2 separate regions of the Homo sapiens genome follow, and region 2 is linked to region 1. The links are contacts of gene promoters, found by promoter capture Hi-C in blood cells and fetal thymus (Javierre and others, 2016). All regions are on one chromosome and are shown on one strand. Each heading gives the region's core, a stretch centred on a gene start or on the middle of the fragment in contact. The rest is flanking DNA. Distances are from core to core; before and after follow the strand shown.

The links. Contacts are between HindIII fragments. The CHiCAGO score rates a contact against its expected background, and 5 or more counts as called.
Region 2: a fragment that was not itself captured here is called in contact with the fragment with the promoter of KDM2B in region 1 in 2 of 17 cell types (naive B cells and total B cells); the score reaches 5.4 in naive B cells.

What each region holds. Positions count from the first base shown.
Region 1 is chr12:121,579,260-121,582,525 of GRCh38, forward strand. KDM2B (lysine demethylase 2B) reads right to left here and starts at 1,764. Exons shown (of 23, transcript NM_032590.5): 1 at 1,527-1,764. The coding sequence starts at 1,652. It overlaps KDM2B-DT (KDM2B divergent transcript), which reads left to right and starts at 1,252. Exons shown (of 4, transcript NR_183427.1): 1 at 1,252-2,004. RefSeq lists silencers at 1,045-1,354, 1,435-1,484 and enhancers at 1,054-1,989, 2,925-3,266. The HindIII fragment of the contact is 12,326 bases long and covers 1-3,266 here.
Region 2 is chr12:121,615,231-121,618,496 of GRCh38, forward strand. No RefSeq gene overlaps it. Among named protein-coding and RNA genes, the nearest start is that of KDM2B, 36 kb to the left of the region's middle. The HindIII fragment of the contact is 3,928 bases long and covers 1-3,266 here.

The sequences.
Region 1 (3,266 bases), core at 514-3,013:
GAGCCTGGTTATGTAACCCGCGAAGGGGGCTCCGGACACGGGCTGGCGGGGCAAATGTAGGCCCCAGGAGGAGCCGCTGCGGCGCCCGGCTCGGCGGTAACAGCAGCCCCAGCGGCCGCGGCGGCAGAGCCGGGAAGCCGGAACCGGGGGCCGGCGGCATTTCTAAAGCTGGAGCCGCCCCCGAGCTACCGGGGAAGCTGGAAAGCTGAAATGGAAGGGCTGAGACCCCAGCCGCCCCCGCCGCCCGCCCGCCAGTGCAAGAAGAGGAGGTGGGGGGAGGAGAATCGGGGCTTGGAAGGGGGAGAGGCAGACGGCCCGCCACAAAGCTCGGATCGGAGACCCCAAAACGCACCAGCAGCTGCCTCATCTCCCCACAAGCGCGCGCGCACACTCACTTCCTAAGGAGACTCCCCCACCACTCCCCGCATCCCCCTGCCTCCTCCCTCCACCGCCCAGCGCCCGGCCCCTCAGCCCCCCAGATTCCGGGCGAACCCCGAGCCCGCTCAGCCCCCCTCCACGCCTTTCCCCGATACCACCTCCCCACTTAAGTGTCTGAGACTCTAAGCCTCACAAGGGGCTGGAGGAGTAAGCAGCTTGCTTCCTTTTGCATGCAATTTATTATATTTTTTTCCCGGTCCTCTTGCAAAATACAGAAAAGGAAAGAAAAGGCAGCGAGAAACAACCAAAAAAAAAAAAAAAAAGATCTATCATATGCCAGATACAGATTTGGAAAAAAAAAAAAAAAAAAAAAGCTACACACCAATCTTCTTCCAGAGTCTTTCTCTGCCTCCATTTTTTTAGGAGAGTTCACCAATTAATTGTCAACACTCCTGCCCCCTGCATTTTGGCCGAGGGGGGAAGGAGGGAAGACCAAAGAAAACAAACCAAAAAATAAATAAATAAAGCAAGCCAGAGCCGAGATCTACAAAGTTTTGCACCAACACTTAGGCAGATCCGTTTGCAAAGTCCTAGGAAACCATTTTCAGCAGTTGTGGGGGGGGGGAGGCGTCGACGTCATAATCCCCGGAACGTAAACATTGTTGCCGATCGCGCTCGGAGCCCGCGGCCGGGCTATTTGGGGGGGCTCTCGGCCCGGGCTTGGGGGGGTGGGGGCGGCGGCCCGAGGAGGTATGGGGCGGGGAGGGAGCCCGGGAGGCACCGGGCGCCGTTAGCGCCGTGGCATCGCTGTTTTGTTGTTGGGTCACGAGTGCGCCTCTGCACGCAGGCGCCGCCGCCGCCCGGGAGTTGTGTGCAGAGCTGACTTTTGGAGGGCCGAGTTGCAGGCGGCGGGCGCATCCCGGAGATGGCGGGGCAGGGAGGGAGGGAAGGAGGAGGGGGCGGGGAGGGAGGTGCAGATTTGCACGGCTGGCCTCAGCGGGAGGCGCGGAAATGCAAGCCGAGCATGCTGGCGTGAAAGCCCCCGGGGCCTGGCACCCCCAAAAACGACCCCCCACCTCCGTTCCTGCCCTCATTGCCCAGGGCTACCCCTCTTCCTCTTCTTTCATCCACCCCTCCCCCAACATTACCTGTGTGGCCGACTCAAATTCAAAGCATTTTGTATATATAACTGTTTTCTTTTTTTGCTTTTCTGCTGCATGTCTTTTTCGTGGGGGGTGATCCTCTGCAGATCCCCCCATTTGCGGACCCGCCATGTGGAGGAGGCATTTGGGGGGCTCAGAAGGAAATTAGCTCGGCTTCCATACCTATAAGGACTGCCTAACTTTTAAACTCCCGGCACTCAAAGATGTGGACACACACACGTACAGGAAATACAGCCAGACCAGAGCCTTTGCAGTCCGCAGCTGACCGGAAGACGTTGCCTTTCATTCATTCATTCTGCCCGCCTCTGTGGACTCCTTTACTAGGCGACCAGCCCTGAAACAGAAGTTGGACATTTTTTAAAGGTTCTTGCGCTCGGCAAGGGGAGCAGATAGATGCTCAGGAGCGAAAGACGCAGAGAATTGGATCTGGCGCCTCCTAACGCAGCCCGCACAGGAGCGAAGGGTAAGCCCTTGTTGGTAGTTTATAGAAGACAAGTCGGTGGAAAGGTGCATGGTGCTCTGGGATAGGTGGGGGGAACTCTAGTGCCCTTGATGAAGCCCCTACAGGGCTTCTTAGCGGAGGTATCGGCACCCTCCGTACATACATGGGTGTCATTAGGTCCCTGTCCACTTACTAGTGTTTTTGACTACCCCAGCACTGGTCCTGGGTTGTCTTGTCCTCCCATCATGAGCAACAGTCAGGTCGACTTGGCTTGAGAAAAGCTAGCCCTAAACATTCCTCCAGCCCCAGCTGTGGCGCCCTGCTAGGCCTGATCTTGCGGGTAAAGATGCTGATAAAATGACATGGCAAGAGGGAGACGATAAAGGGACATTGTAGATAGCAGGCTTTGAGCCTGACATTTTATTTCTGCCATAACCCTGTGGGATACTTGGAGCAGGTCATTTTGCAGATAGGGAAACTGAAGCTCAGAGAAATTATGAATCTGAATGATTGCTGTGCTCCCATATGGTCCCCAGGCTATCAGACAGACCTGTGGGGAGGACGTGGCTTCCCCACCAGGAGATACGATGTCACTATCAGCATCGTATTGGCCGTCCTAAGAGACAGCTTCCCCCTCACTCACCTTAGAAGTTTCCTGTCCTATCTGACTGTAGTCTTTCCCACCCATCCTCAAAGGCTACTCTTTGAAGTTTGTTTTCATTCATGTTCACTAGCTGTAAAAATCTTTTAAGCAGGGATGAGGCTGGGAAACATCAAAATTTGTTTCCAAACTGAAATCGCCCACGTTGGCTGCTGCGTGCAATCAGTAGCCCTTCGTGTGAGTGCTGCCGGTTCTGCCTTCAGTCCGTCCAGAACCATGGACCATTTTATTTGTTCCTGTCTTTCTCACAAGAACCCTTTAAGGGAAATCGTCTTGTTCGTTCCCATTTTGCAAAGGAGGAAATTAGGACTAAGAAAAGCAAAGCCACTCACCCAGGATCACATAGCGCGTATGTGCCGCTGCCAGGGCTCACACTGGAGCCTGGCTTGGCCATCACGTGCTTTTTTTTTTTTTTTTTTTTTTTTTAGTAACTTACCAGCCTCACTACTGCCCCATAATGAAATAAACATGTTCAAAGGAGGCTGCATGGGCTGGAGAGTGACGCAAAGTGAATTAAGTGAAATAAAGCAAAAAATATATAATAGAATGCTTCATCTAATTAATTCTTTTTTCTCCCTGAGGCCCTTCTTTCTCTCCAAGTGGCCTCATAGTGGCCCCAAAA
Region 2 (3,266 bases), core at 413-2,912, 36 kb after region 1:
AAAGGCTGTATTTCCAAATGAGGTCACATTCTTCGTTTTTTTTTGTTTGTGGTTTTTTTTTTTTTTTTTAGAGAGTTTCACTCTTTCGCCCAGGCTGGAGTGCAATGGCACAATCTCAGCTGACTGCAACCTCTGCCTTCCAGTGTCAAGAGATTCTCCTGCCTCAGCCTCCCAAGTAGCTAGGATTACAACAGTCGCTTGCCTTCACACCCAGCTAATTTTTGTATTTTTAGTAGAGATCGGGTTTCACCATGTTGGCCAGGCTGGTCTCCAACTCCTGACCTCCTGATCCACCCTCCTCGGCCTCCCAAAGTGCTGGGATTACAGATGTGAGCCACCGTGCCTGGCCACAGTCTTCTTCTTTTGTTTTTTTTTGAGACGGAGTCTCGCTCTGTCACCCAGGCTGGAGTGCAGTGGCGTGATCTCGGCTCACTGCAAGTTCTGCCTTCCAGGTTCACGCCATTCTCCTGCCTCAGCCTCCCGAGTAGCTGGGACTACAAGCACCTGCCACCATGCCTGGCTAATTTTTTGTATTTTTTTCATTAGAGACGGGGGTTTCACCGTGTTAGCCAGGATGGTCTCGATCTCCTGACCTCGTGATCCGCCTGCCTCGGCCTCCCAAAGTGCTGGGATTACAGGCGTGAGCCATCGTGCCCAGCCGGCCACATTCTTCTTTTTGAGGTGGAGTTTCACTCTTGTCTGCCGGGCTGCAGTGCAATGGCGCAATCTTGGCTCACTGCAACCTCCACCTCCTGGCTACTTTTTGTATTTTCAGTAGAGATGGGGTTTCACCATGTTTGCCAGGCTGGTCTTGAACTCCTGACCTCAGGTGATCCGCCTGCCTCAGTCTCCCAAGGTGTTGAAATTACAGGCGTGAGCCACTGCGCCCAGCCCCAAATGAGGTCACATTCTGAGGTACTGAGGTTTAGGACTGCAATGTCTTTTTTGGGGGGACACAGTTTAACCTTTAAGAGTCCAACCTGATCTCATGTGTCTGATCTCTGCAGTGTGGCCTGCTTTGCTAATAGAGGATGTCAGACCGTCCAGGAAAATGATCCTGCTGACACCCACCAAGTTAAGGGATATAGTGATTCTCCAAGGCATATGTGTATTGACAAAATTTACCCCAACATTCTGTACAGCAAATTCAGTTTTGAAAAAGGAGAACTAGACTAGGCGTGGTGGCTCATGCCTGTAATCCAGCACTTTGGGAGGCTGAGGTGGGTGGATCACCTGAGGTCACGAGTTCAAGACCAGCCTGACCAACATGTAGAAACCTCGTCTCTACTAAAAATGTAAAAATTACCCGGGCGTGGTGGTGCATGCCTGTAATCCCAGCTACTCGGGAGGCTGAGGCAGGAGAATCACTTGAATCCAGGAGGTGGAGGTTGCAGTGAGCTGAGATCATGCCATTGCGCTCCAGCCTGGGCAACAAGAGCAAAACTCCGTCTCAAAAAAAAAAAAAAAAAAAGAAAGAAAGAAAAGAAAAGAAAAAGAGAACTAGGCTGGGTAGGTTAGCTCACGCCTGTAATCCCAGCATTTTGGGAGGCCATGGCAGGAGGATCGCTTGTGTCCAGGAGTTTTGAGACTGGCCTAGGCAACATATTAGATCCCATCTTTATAAATAATAAAAAATTAGCCAGGTGTGGTGGTGTGTGCATGTAGTCTCAGCTACTTGGCAGGCTGAGGTGGGAGGGTCACTTGAACCCAGGAGGTCAAGGCTGCAGTGAGCCATAATCGTGCCTCTGGACTCCAGTCTAGGCAACAGAATGAAACTTCATCTCAAAACAACAACAACAAAAAAGAAGCTGGTCACAGTGGCTCTAGCCTTTAATCCCAGCACTTTGGGAGGCTGAGGCAAGCGGATCGCTTGAGCCCAGGAGTTCAAGACCAGCCTGGGCAACGTGGCAAGACCCCCTGTCTCTACAAAAAAAAAAAAAAAAAAAAAAACACAAAAATTAGCCAGATGTGGTGATGCAGGCCTGTAGCCCTAGCTACTTGGGAGGCTGAGCTGAGAGGATCACTTGCACCCGGGAGGCAGAGGTTATAGTGGGCTGAGATTGTGCCACTGCACTCCAGTCTGGGCAAGAGACCAAGACCCCTGTGAAAAAAAAAGAAGGAAGGAAGGAAGGGAGGAAGGGAGGGAGGGAACAAGTTGAAGGTCTTACCTCTACCTGACTTTAAGACTTATTTTGAGGCCGGGCGTGGTGACTCATGTCTGTAATCTCAGCACTTTGGGAGGCTGAGGTGGGTGAATAACCTGAGGTCAGGAGTTCCAGACCAGCCTGGCCAACACGGCGAATCCCTGTTTCTACTAAAAATACAAAAATTAGCTGGATGTGGCAGCAGGCACCTGTAATCCTAGCTACTCGGGAGGCTGAAGCAGGAGAATCGCTTGAACCCGGGAGCCGAGGTTGCAGTGAGCCCAGAACGTGCCATTGCACTCCAGCCTGGGCAATAGAGAGAGACTCTGTCTTAAAAAAGAGACTTTTTTTTTTGAGACAGGGTCTTGCTCTGTCACCCAGGCTGAAGTGTAGTGGCCCCGTCTCGGCTCACTGCAACCTCCACCTCCCAGGTTCAAGCAATTCTCCTGCCTCAGCCTCCCGAGTAGCTGGGACTACAGGTGCGTGCCACCACATCCGGCTAATTTTTGTATGTTTAGTAGAGACAGGATTTCACTGCGTTGACCAGGCTGGTCTCAAACTCCTAACCTCGTGATCCGCCCGCCTCGGCCTCCCAAAGTGCTGGGATTACAGGCGTGAACCACCATGCCCGGCCGAGACTTTTTTTTTTTTAATTTTGAGGAATTTATGGGGTTTTTTTTCCCCAAGACTTATTTTATTTTTATTTATTTATTTATTAATTTATTTACTTTTTTTTTTTTTTTTGAGATGGAGTCTCACTCTGTCACCCAGGCTAGAGTGCAATGGCGCGATCTCAGCTCACTACAAGCTCTGCCTCCCGGGTTCATGCCATTCTCCTGCCTCAGCCTCCAGAGTAGCTGGGACTACAGGCGCCTGCCACCACGCCTGGCTAATTTTTTGTATTTTTAGTAGAGATGAGGTTTCACCGTGTTAGCCAGGATGGTCTCGATCTCCTGACCTTGTGATCGGCCCGCCTCGGCCTCCCAAAGTGCTGGGATTACAGGCATGAGCCACTGCGCCCGGCCAATTTATTTACTTTTGAGACGGAGTCTTACTCTGTCGCCCAGTATGGAGTGCAGTGGCGTGACCTCGGCTCACTGCTACCTCCGTCTCCCGGGTTCA